Linked DNA regions of Homo sapiens: region 2 is linked to region 1. The links are contacts of gene promoters, found by promoter capture Hi-C in human tissues and cell types (Jung and others, 2019). All regions are on one chromosome and are shown on one strand. The core of a region is centred on a gene start or on the middle of the fragment in contact, and the rest is flanking DNA. Distances in the headings are between cores, read along the strand shown.

Region 1 (5,105 bases), core at 1,252-3,751:
CGCTCCAGCCTCGATGACTGAGTGAGGCTCTGTTGAAAGAGAGAAGGAGGAAAGAAAAAGAAAGAAAGAAAGAAAGAGAGAAAGAAGAAAGAAAGAAAGAAAGAGAAAGAAAGAAGAAAGAAAGAAAAAGAAAGAAAGAAAGAAAGAAAGAAAGAAAGAAAGAAAGAAAGAAAGAAAGAAAGAAAGAAAGAAAGAAAAAGGAGTAAGGGGGAGGGAGGGAGAGAGGAAGGAAGGAAAGAAAGAAGGAAGGAAGGAAGGAAGGAAGGCAAGCAAGAAAGGTACATTGCCTTGGCTAAAATCATAAAGGAGTTCAGTCCAATGAAACTATCTCTTTAGTCTCATGAAGGCTTCTGACCCCCATTTTATGAAATTTTAAATTTAAATATCAACCATGTTTTCCTTCATTGTTTTCCAGTGTATTATATTGCGAAACTAGATTCTCAATTGACTGAGGTGTTTAATCCACTTGCAAATAGATTGTAAATGAATACAAAATAAGTCACTGAGAAGCATTTAACATAATTTAAAAATCAACAAGAAATTTGTCCAAATATTTAATAACATATTAATTTAAACGAGGGTTAGCAAGCATGTTACTACTTTTTTGAAACAAAAATCAGTTCTCCCATTTACTAGCTTCATAGCCACTGTTGACAATCCTATTATTTATTTTTCAGCCTTCCCTTTGAAAGATGCTTAGCAAAAATCAACTAAGTAACAACCAAAGATCTCATTCTCTTTAACATCTTCCAGGATCACAAATTTCAATTATTCTCTGCCTGAGTTATCACAATTCAAACTGGAGAATGAAGAGTAAACACAAGCAAAAGAAGATAAAATCTATTAAAAGATCGAGAGACACCAGACACAAATGGGTTAAAAGAAGAAGAAGAATTAAAGGTTATACTGTTTTGATTACACACATAGAGGCTAGGAAGAAGAAAATGAATTGAGATTACCTGTTAGAAATAGGCGGTTTCTGGTTTCTGGGAGCTGTCCAATGTACTGAGTGAACCATCATAACCACAACTTACCCCCTTAATAGGGACTGACGTCCTGGGCAGTTCTCTTTTGAACCGGGATGTTTCTACATTCATCTTTTTAGGCTATTTCTTCCAATCTACCTTTAAAATTATCTTCTAATCTGTCACTTTGACACAATGGGTCTTTTAAATAAATCTTTACACAGTACTGAATAATTAAGTAAATATAGTTATTGGCAAACAAAGAAAAAGAACCTTTTTGTTAAAATATTTGGGATACTCGAGATAATATAAAATGAGTAATCTCTTATTTTTCTTATGCCAAATTTAAAATCTCTTTCTTTTCTCAAAAATAACGATCTAACGATAGCCAAAAACTCCCTTAAATATATTTCAATAAATCATTGTTTCTGCACTTAAGTCTTACTGTAGGACAATACAAATCAATGAGGAAAATACGCCAGATGGAAGTGTTAGGTTTTTTTCTTTGTTCGGGAACAAATACTCGATCCGCAATTTAAAAGTCCGAAGACTCCTCAGCAGAGGGTGAGCTGATTGACTCTTTGGCTTATCAAGGGCAAATCGCATTTCTGAAAAGAGCTTGAAGTGGTTTTGTTTGTGAGGAGAGTTTGCTTTGTCCCCCACACTGAAAAGTATACAGCAAAGCCCGAGCATAGAAAATATCCTGAGCTTAAATTTCTCATTTTATTGCCATCATAACTTTTCCTCTTGGAATAAAATCCTCTATTTTATATGAGTAGGAGGTAAAGGTAGGGAAAGGAAAGTCAAGTATCTCAATTGTTACGCTGATTGCATCCAAACAGACTTTAGAAGTCAGGGTTTGTAACGTGGCAGGAGAGCTGTTTGCGATGCCCTGGAAAGAAAAGAAAGCCGGTTCCAACAGCGACTCTGGGGAATGCACTCTCGGTCCCCCTGCCATGCTTACTTAAGCTAATTGAAGGTCTTGCCTTTCAGCAGCCGCTGCACTGGGATACCAGACAAACAGCTCCCCTTGATGCCAGGCAGGCAGGGCCCCTCTTCAGGACATCATTAAAAGCACATGCACTTGCTCCACATCCATTGGCAGATGGTGGCAAGATTCAAGACTCCTACCCTGAAGTCAAGGAGAAGCCATCGCGGTGGAAAACATCCTCGCTTTGAAAATCCAACACGAAATTAAAGAACTACACGAGATAAGGAGCCTGGAGAACATTAGTTGGCTGCAGGGGTGAAGACAGACACAAAAAGCACAGCAGGTAAGAGCTGGGGGTTGTTGCCAACAAGGAACTGTCCCGGGTGGCGCAGAGAAAAGGATCTCAGAACTGGAGCCCTGTCCCTTTGAGTCTTCCATGCGTGCTCAAGCTTGTCATCTTCCATAAGCTTCGAGAGAAGGGACGTTGTCAGAGCATTCCTTATCGGTGCGACTAATCCTGTTATCAGCTTGGTTATAAATATTTAATGTTCCCTGGCCTTTCGGTGATGGTGCCCCATCAGATTCAAGGCTGTTAAGAATCCCCACCAGCAACCTCGCCCCTCCCTGCGGAAAACCGATGAGAGGCAGGGCCAAGCCGAAGCGATGGCGGCCTATCCGGAGAGCTGCGTGGACACTACGGTGCTGGACTTCGTCGCAGACCTGTCCCTGGCCTCCCCGAGACGCCCTCTCCTCTGCGACTTCGCACCCGGGGTCTCCTTGGGGGACCCAGCCCTTGCGCTCCGAGAGGGAAGACCCAGGAGGATGGCGCGGTTTGAAGAGGGGGACCCAGAAGAAGAGGAGTGCGAAGTGGACCAGGGGGACGGAGAAGAGGAGGAGGAAGAGGAGCGCGGAAGAGGTGTCTCCCTATTAGGCCGCCCCAAGAGGAAAAGGGTGATCACCTACGCCCAGCGCCAGGCCGCCAACATCCGCGAAAGGAAGCGGATGTTCAACCTCAACGAGGCCTTTGACCAGCTGCGGAGGAAGGTGCCCACGTTTGCTTACGAGAAAAGGCTGTCCCGGATCGAGACCCTCCGCCTGGCCATCGTCTATATCTCCTTCATGACCGAGCTCTTGGAGAGCTGTGAGAAGAAGGAAAGCGGCTGAGCCTGGTGTGGAGAGTCTGCCCTTCCTCGTCTGGTAGTGCTGGGGTGTGTCAGGACCGGGCACTGGGTGAGGCTAAAGGGCCGGGAGGGAGGCCCCAAGACAGAACGTCTGGTCTTCTGGAGGTCGGGGTCGAGATTGTAAGATCCCCACATGCGCTGAGCAGAGTGGCTGCTGTAGAGTTCATATCTACGCGACCGCCCTAAGTGAAGTCGGGGTCAGGGGCGAGCGGGGAAGTCAGAGAGCGTGAGGCTGAGTCGGGGCCGTTCAGGCTGCTCCTAAGAGCTTCCGTGGGCTGGGTGGGTGGGAAGTGAACCCTCCTCGCAAATGGCAGACTTTGGAGCTTCTATAAAATCTAACCTCTCTTCTTTACATTTTTTTTTTCATAGAGATAATAAAGTAGAAATTCTTACGTTTTTAAAAAGCCTGAAGGGTCGGTGGTACGCCATCCCCAGCAGGCGCTCCAGCGGGCGCCTGCGTGGAGGGTCTGAAGCAGACGCCGCAAGGGTGCGGGGGTGCGAGCTTTTCTGCTAGCCAGAGGGTTCTGCCTGGTCCTCCGAGGCTTGTCCAGGAACTGAGGAAAGGAAAAATGGAAGGCAGAGCAGTCGAGAGGAACTGCTGACAAAGTGCGACCTCTGAGAAGGGACACCCTTCCTGTCTTCCATTCCCTCTCCCTCCCGTCCCTTCCTCTCTCCCGCGCGCAAGCCCTCTCTCTTCCTTTCTCCCTCCCCTTCGCCACCTAGTTGATCCCAGACGGACCACAGCTCCTTGTCCCAGGGCCACAGTGGTGTTCATTCAGTGCCTTAGCCAGAGTGCAAATCTACGCTTTGCATCTAAAGTGCAGCATCAGCTTCCGTGTTCCAGTGCCTTCTTCAGGCCCCAGGCCAGAGTAAGGGGCGAGTGCACTCGGGTCACTCCTGGGCCGCAGGGGGCCTTGGGCGCCCTGCAGCTTCGCCACCAGCCACCGCTACCAACTGTCCCCGGCCAGGGGTTGGGGTATGAAGGGGCCTGGATCTTTCTAGGAGCAGGGCCGCCTGAGCGCGCTCACTTTTACATTTTTAGCTGTAGGTAGGAAAGATAGCTTTCACTCTAATGGCTTCTAGAGACTACCAGGGGAGACAAAAAGTCCAAAGAGGAGATGCCTTCTGACGCCTTGCAAAACGCCTGCCATGCAGATGAGGTTGAAGCGGGTCCATGCTGAGAGGCCGCCTCTAGTTTGGACCCGTGCCATTCCAGGATTCTTCCTTCTAGGTGACGTGCTAGTACCAGAACTGGGGTCTTTCAGAAAGGAGTGGGTAACTGAGGCGAGGAACCCGATTGAATAATGCCAACCTAAACATAAATTCAGTAATCCTAAAGGATAATCCCCAGTGATTATTCCAACACTTTATTTCGCCCCTCATTGCACACAGAAATAGGCGGGAGCCTGTGCGAACACACAATTCTCTTAATCATGCTTTCGGAAATAGAATTCATTTCATTAATAAGTAACATATACTCATCCTAGAAATTTTGGAAAAAAAAATTTCAAAAAAGAGAAAATTCGAATCACTCCACGTTACCATACTGTTAGCATTTTCATCTATTTCTTTCCAGTCTTTTTTTCCCTGTGCAGTTATAAATTCAATATATTTTACTAATTCGAGATACTTTGGGATACTGATATTTTTCCACTTGGCATTATAGAAGGTGCAATGTTTTCCCTTAACTTTAATATTATTCAAATGTGATTTTGATTACCATATCTTATTGTCTTATCCATGTATCACACCACCACCAGCCCTTTCCAGATAGATAGCTATTTCCTTTTTAAAAAATAAATGATGCTGCTAAGAGCATTCTTGTAAATGCCTTCTCTGTCTATTATTACTTCCTAACATTTGATACCTAGAAGTGAAATTTCTGGATTCAAGTTTGTGGATATAAATGGCCAGATTCCCTTCTTGGTGGGTTCTGCCAGTTCACTCTCCCACCCTCTAGCATTGCAGGGATTTGCCTGTTTCCCAGCCCCTTCATTAGTACTTCGAATATTTAAAACTTTTCTTAGT
Region 2 (5,105 bases), core at 1,160-3,659, 84 kb before region 1:
TCATATCTTTGTTGGCCGCATAAATGTCTCCTTTTGAGAAGTGTCTGTTCGTAGCCTTCGCCCACTTTTTGATGGAATTGTTTGTTTTTTTCTTGTAAAATTGTTTAAGTTCTTTGTAGATTCTGGTATCAGTCCTTTGTCAGAGAGTTAGATTGCAAAAATTTTCTCCCATTCTGTAGGTTGCCTGTTCACTCTGATAATAGTTACTTTTGCTGTGCAGAAGCCCTTTAGTTTAATTAGATCTCATTTGTCTATTTTGGCTTTTGTTGCCATTGCTTTTGGTGTTTTAGCAATGAAGTCCTTGCCCATGCCTACGTCCTGAATGGTATTGCCTAGGTTTTCTTCTAGGGTTTTTATGGTTTTAGGTCTTACGTTTAAGTCCTTAATCTGTCTTGAGTTAATTTTTGTATAAGGTGTAATGAACGGGGTCCCTTTTCAGTTTTCTGCATATGGCTAACCAGTTTTCCAAACACCATTTATTAAATAGGGAATCCTTTCCCCATTGTTTGTTTTTGCCAGGTTTGTCAAAGACCAGATTGTTGTAGATGTGTGGTGTTATTTCTGAGGCCTCTGTTCTATTCCATTGGTCTATATAGCTGTTTTGGTACCAGTGCCATGCTGTTTTGGTTACTGTAGCCTTGTAGTACAGTTTGAAGTAAGGTTGCGTGCTGCCTTCAATTTTGTTCTTTTCGCCTAGGACTGTCTTGGCTACCCTGGCTCTTTTTTGGTTCCATATGAAATTTAAAGTAGTTATTTTCTAATTCTGTGAAGAAAGTCAATGGTAGCTTGATGGGATAGCATTGAATCTATAAATTACTTTGGGCAGTATAGCCATTTTCATGATATTGATTCTTCCTATCCATGAGCATGTAATGTTTTCCCATTTGTTTCTGTCCTCTCTTATTTCCTTGAGCAGTGATTTGTAGATCTCCTTGAAGAGGTCCTTCACATCCCTTGTGGGTTGTATTCCTATGTATTTTATTCTCTTTGTAGAAGCAATTGTGAATGGGAGTTCACGCATGATTTGGCTCTCTATTATTGATGTATAGGAGTGCGTGCAATTTTTGCACATTGATTTTGTATCCTGAGACTTTGCTGAAGTTGTTTAACAGCTTAAGGAGATTTTGGGAAGAGACAATGGGATTTTCTAAATATACAATCATGTCATCTGAAAACAGAGACAATTTGACTTCTTCTCTTCCTATTTGAACACCCTTTATTTCTTTCTCTTGCCTCATTGCCCTGGCCAGAACTTACAATACTATGTTGAATACAAGTGGTGAGAGAGGGTATCCTTGTCTTGTGCCAGTTTTCAAAGGGAATGCTTCCAGTTTTTGCCCATTCGGCTGTGGGTTTGTCATAAATAGCTCTTATTGTTTTGAGATACGTTCCATGAATACCTAGTTTATTGAGAGTTTTTAGCATGACAGGCTGTTGAATTTTTTCTAAGGCCTATTCTGTGTCAATTGAGATAATCATGTGGTTTTTGTCATTGGTTCTGTTTATGCAATTGATTACATTTATTGATTTGCGTATGTTGAACCAGCCTTGCATCCAAGGCATGAAGCCAACTTGATCATGGTGGATAAGCTTTTTGATGTGCTGCTGGATTCAGTTTGCCAGTATTTTATTGAGGATTTTTGCATCGATGTTCATCATGGATATTGGTCTGAAATTTTCTTTTTTTTTGTTGTGTCTCTGCCAGGTTTTGGTATCAGGATGATGCTGGCCTCATAAAATGAGTTAGGGAGGAGACCCTCTTTTTCTATTGATTGAAAGATAGTTTCAGAAGGAATGGTACCAGCTCCTCTTTGTACCTCTGGTAGAATTCAGCTGTGAATCTGTCTTGTCCTGGGCTTTTTTTTGATTGGTAGGCTATTAATTACTGCCTCAATTTCAGAACTTGTTATTGTTCTATTCAGGGATTCGACTTCTTCCTGGTTTAGTCTTGGGAGGGTGTATGTATCCAGGAATTTATCCATTTCGTCTAGATTTTCTAGTTTATTTGCATAGAGGTGTTTATAGTATTCTTTGATGGTAGTTTGTATTTCTCTGGGATCAGTGGTGATATCCCCTTTATCATTTTTTATTGTGTCTTTTTTATTCTTCTCTCTCTTCTTCTTTGTTAGTCTGGCTAGCGGTCTATTTTGTTGATCTTTTCAGAAAACCAACTCCTGGATTCACTGATTTTTTGAAGGGTTTTCCGTGTCTCTATCTCCCTCAGTTCTGCTCTGATCCTAGTTATCTCTTGTCTTCTGCTAGCTTTTGAATTTGTTTCCTCCCGCTTCTCTAGTTCTTTTCATTGTTATGTTTGGGTGTCGATTTTAGATCTTTCCTGCTTTCTCCTGTGGGCACTTATTGCCATACATTTCCCTCTATAAACAGTGCTTTAGCTGTATCCCAGAGATTCTGGTACATTGTGCCTTTGTTGTCATTGGTTTCAAATAACTTATTTGTTTCTGCCTTAATTTTGTTATTTACCCAGTAGTCATTCCGGAGCAGGATGTTCAGTTTCCATGTAGTTGTGTGATTTTCAGTGAGTTTCTTAATCCTGAGTTCAAATTTGATTGCACTGTGGTCTGAGAGACTGTTATGGTTTACATTCTTGTGCATTTGCTGAGGAGTGTTTTACTTCCAATTATGTGATCAATTTTAGAATAAGTGCAATGTGTTGCTGAGAAGAATGTATATTCTGTTGATTTGGAGTGGAGAGTTCTGTAGATGTCTATTAGGTCAGCCTGGTCCAGAGCTGAGCTCGAGTCCTGAATGTCCTTGTTAATTTTCTGTCTCATTGATCTGTCTAATATCGACAGTGGGGTGTTAACATCTCCCACTATTATTGTGTAAGTGTAAGTCTGTTTGTAGGTCTCTAAGAACTTCCTTTATGAATCCGGTTGCTCCTGTAAGGGATGCATATATATTTAGGATAGTTAGCTCTTCTTGTTGCATTGATCCCTTTACCATTATGTAATGGCCTTCTTTGTCTTTTTTGATCTTTGTTGGTTTAAAGTCTGTTTTATCAGAGACTAGGACTGCAACCCCTGGGGTTTTTTTTTGTTTGTTTCCCATTTGCTTGGTAAATATTATTCCATCCCTTTATTTTGAGCCTATGTATGTCTTTGCACATGAGATGGGTCTCCTGAATACAGCACACCAATGGGTCTTGACTCTTTGTCCAATTTTCCAGTCTGTGTCTTTTAATTGGGGCATTTAGCCCATTTACATTTAAGGTTAATATTGTTATGTGTGAATTTTATCCTGTCATTATGACGCTAGCTCATTATTTTGCCCACTAGTTGATGCAGTTTCATCATAGCATCAATGTTCTTTACAATTTGGTATGTTTCTGCAGTGGCTGGTACCAGTTTTTCCTTTCCATGTTTAGTGCTTCCTTTAGGAGCTCTTGTAAGCAGGCCTGGTGGTGACAAAATCTCTCAGCATTTGCTTGTCTGTAAAGGATTTTATTTCTCCTTTGCTTATGAAGCTTAGTTTGGCTGGATATAAAACTCTGGGCTGAAAATTCTTTTCTTTAAGAGTTTTGAATATTGGCCCCCAATCTCTTCTGACTTGTAGAGTTTCTGCAGAGAGATCTGTTGTTAGTCTGATGTGCTTCCCTTTGTGGGTAACCTGACCTTTCTCTCTGGCTGCCCTTAATATTTTTCCCTTCATTTCAACCTTGGTGAATCTGATGATTATGTGTTTTGGGGTTGCTCTTCTTGAGGAGTATCTTTGTGGTATTCTCTGTATTTCTTGAATTTGAGTGTTGGCCTGTCTTGCTAAGTTGGGGAAGTTCTCCTGGATAATATCCTGCAGAGTGTTTTCCAACTTGGTTCCATTCTCCCTGTCACTTTCAGGTACACCAATCAAACGTAGGTTTGGTCTTTTCACATAGCCCCATATTTATTGGAGGCTTTGTTTGTTCCTTTTCATTCTTTTTTCTCTCATCTTGTCTTCATGCTTTATTTCATTAAGTTAATCTTCAATCTTTGATATCCTTTCTTCTGCTTGATTGATTTGGCTATTGATATTTGGGTATTCTTCATGAACTTCTCATGCTGTGTTTTTCACCTCCATTAGGTCATTTGTGTTCTTCTCTAACCTGGTTATTCTTGTTAGCAATTCCTCTAACCCTTTTTTCAAGGTTCTTAGCTTCCTTGCATTGGGTTCAAACATGCTCCTTTAGCTCGGAGGACTTTGTTATTACCCACCTTCTGAAGCCTACTTTTGTCAATTTGCCAAACTCATTCTCCATCCAGTTTTGCTCCCTTGCTGGCAAGGAGTTGTGATCCTTTGGAGGAGAAGAGATGTTCTTGTTTTTTTAATTTTCAGCCTTTTTGCACTGGTTTTTCCTCATCTTCATGGATTTATCTACTTTTGGTCTTTGATGCTGGCGACCTTTGGATGGGGATTTTGTGTGGACTTCCTTTTTGTTGATGTTGATGCTATTCCTTTCTGTTTGTTAGTTTTCCTTCTAACAGTCAGGCCCCTCTGCTGCAGGTCTACTGGAGTTTGCTGGAGGTCCACTCCAGACGCTGTTTGCCTGGTTATCACCAGCGGAGGCTGCAGAACAGCACAGAATGCTTCATCCCAGATGGGCACCTGTCAGATGCCAGCCGGAGCTCTCCTGTATGAGGTGTCTGTTGACCCCTGCTGGGAGGTGTCTCCCAGTCATGAGACATGGGGGTCAGGGACCCAACTTGAGGAGGCAGTCTGTCCCTTAGCAGAGCTCGAGTGCTGTGCTGGGAGATCTGCTGCTCTCTTTAGAGCTGGCAGGCAGGAACATTTAAGTCTGCTGAAGCTGTGCCCACAGCCACCCCTTTCCCCAGGTGCTCTGTCCCAGGGAGATGGGAGTTTTATCTATAAGGCCCTAACTGGGGCTGCTGCTTTTCTTTCATAGATGCCCTGAGGCAGTCTGGCTACAGCAGCATTGCTGAGCTGTCATGGGCTCTGCCCAGTTTGAACTTCCCAGTAGCTTTGATTACACTGTGAGGGGAAAACTGCCTACTCAAGCCTCAGTAATGGCGGATGCCACTTCCCCCACCAAGCTCAAGCATCCCAGGTTGACTTCAGACTGCTGTACTGGCAGGGAGAATTTCAAGCCAGTG

The links. Contacts are between HindIII fragments. The study calls those that stand out against the background at their distance.
Region 2: a fragment that was not itself captured here is called in contact with the fragment with the promoter of FERD3L in region 1 in 2 of the 25 tissues and cell types used here (neural progenitor cells and thymus).

The regions. Positions count from the first base shown.
Region 1 is chr7:19,142,817-19,147,921 of GRCh38, reverse strand. It overlaps FERD3L (Fer3 like bHLH transcription factor), which reads left to right and starts at 2,501. Exons shown (of 1, transcript NM_152898.2): 1 at 2,501-3,140. The coding sequence starts at 2,560. The coding sequence ends at 3,060. RefSeq lists enhancers at 1,455-2,103, 2,569-3,768. The HindIII fragment of the contact is 11,409 bases long and covers 1-5,105 here.
Region 2 is chr7:19,227,146-19,232,250 of GRCh38, reverse strand. No RefSeq gene overlaps it. Among named protein-coding and RNA genes, the nearest start is that of FERD3L, 84 kb to the right of the region's middle. The HindIII fragment of the contact is 5,574 bases long and covers 1-5,105 here.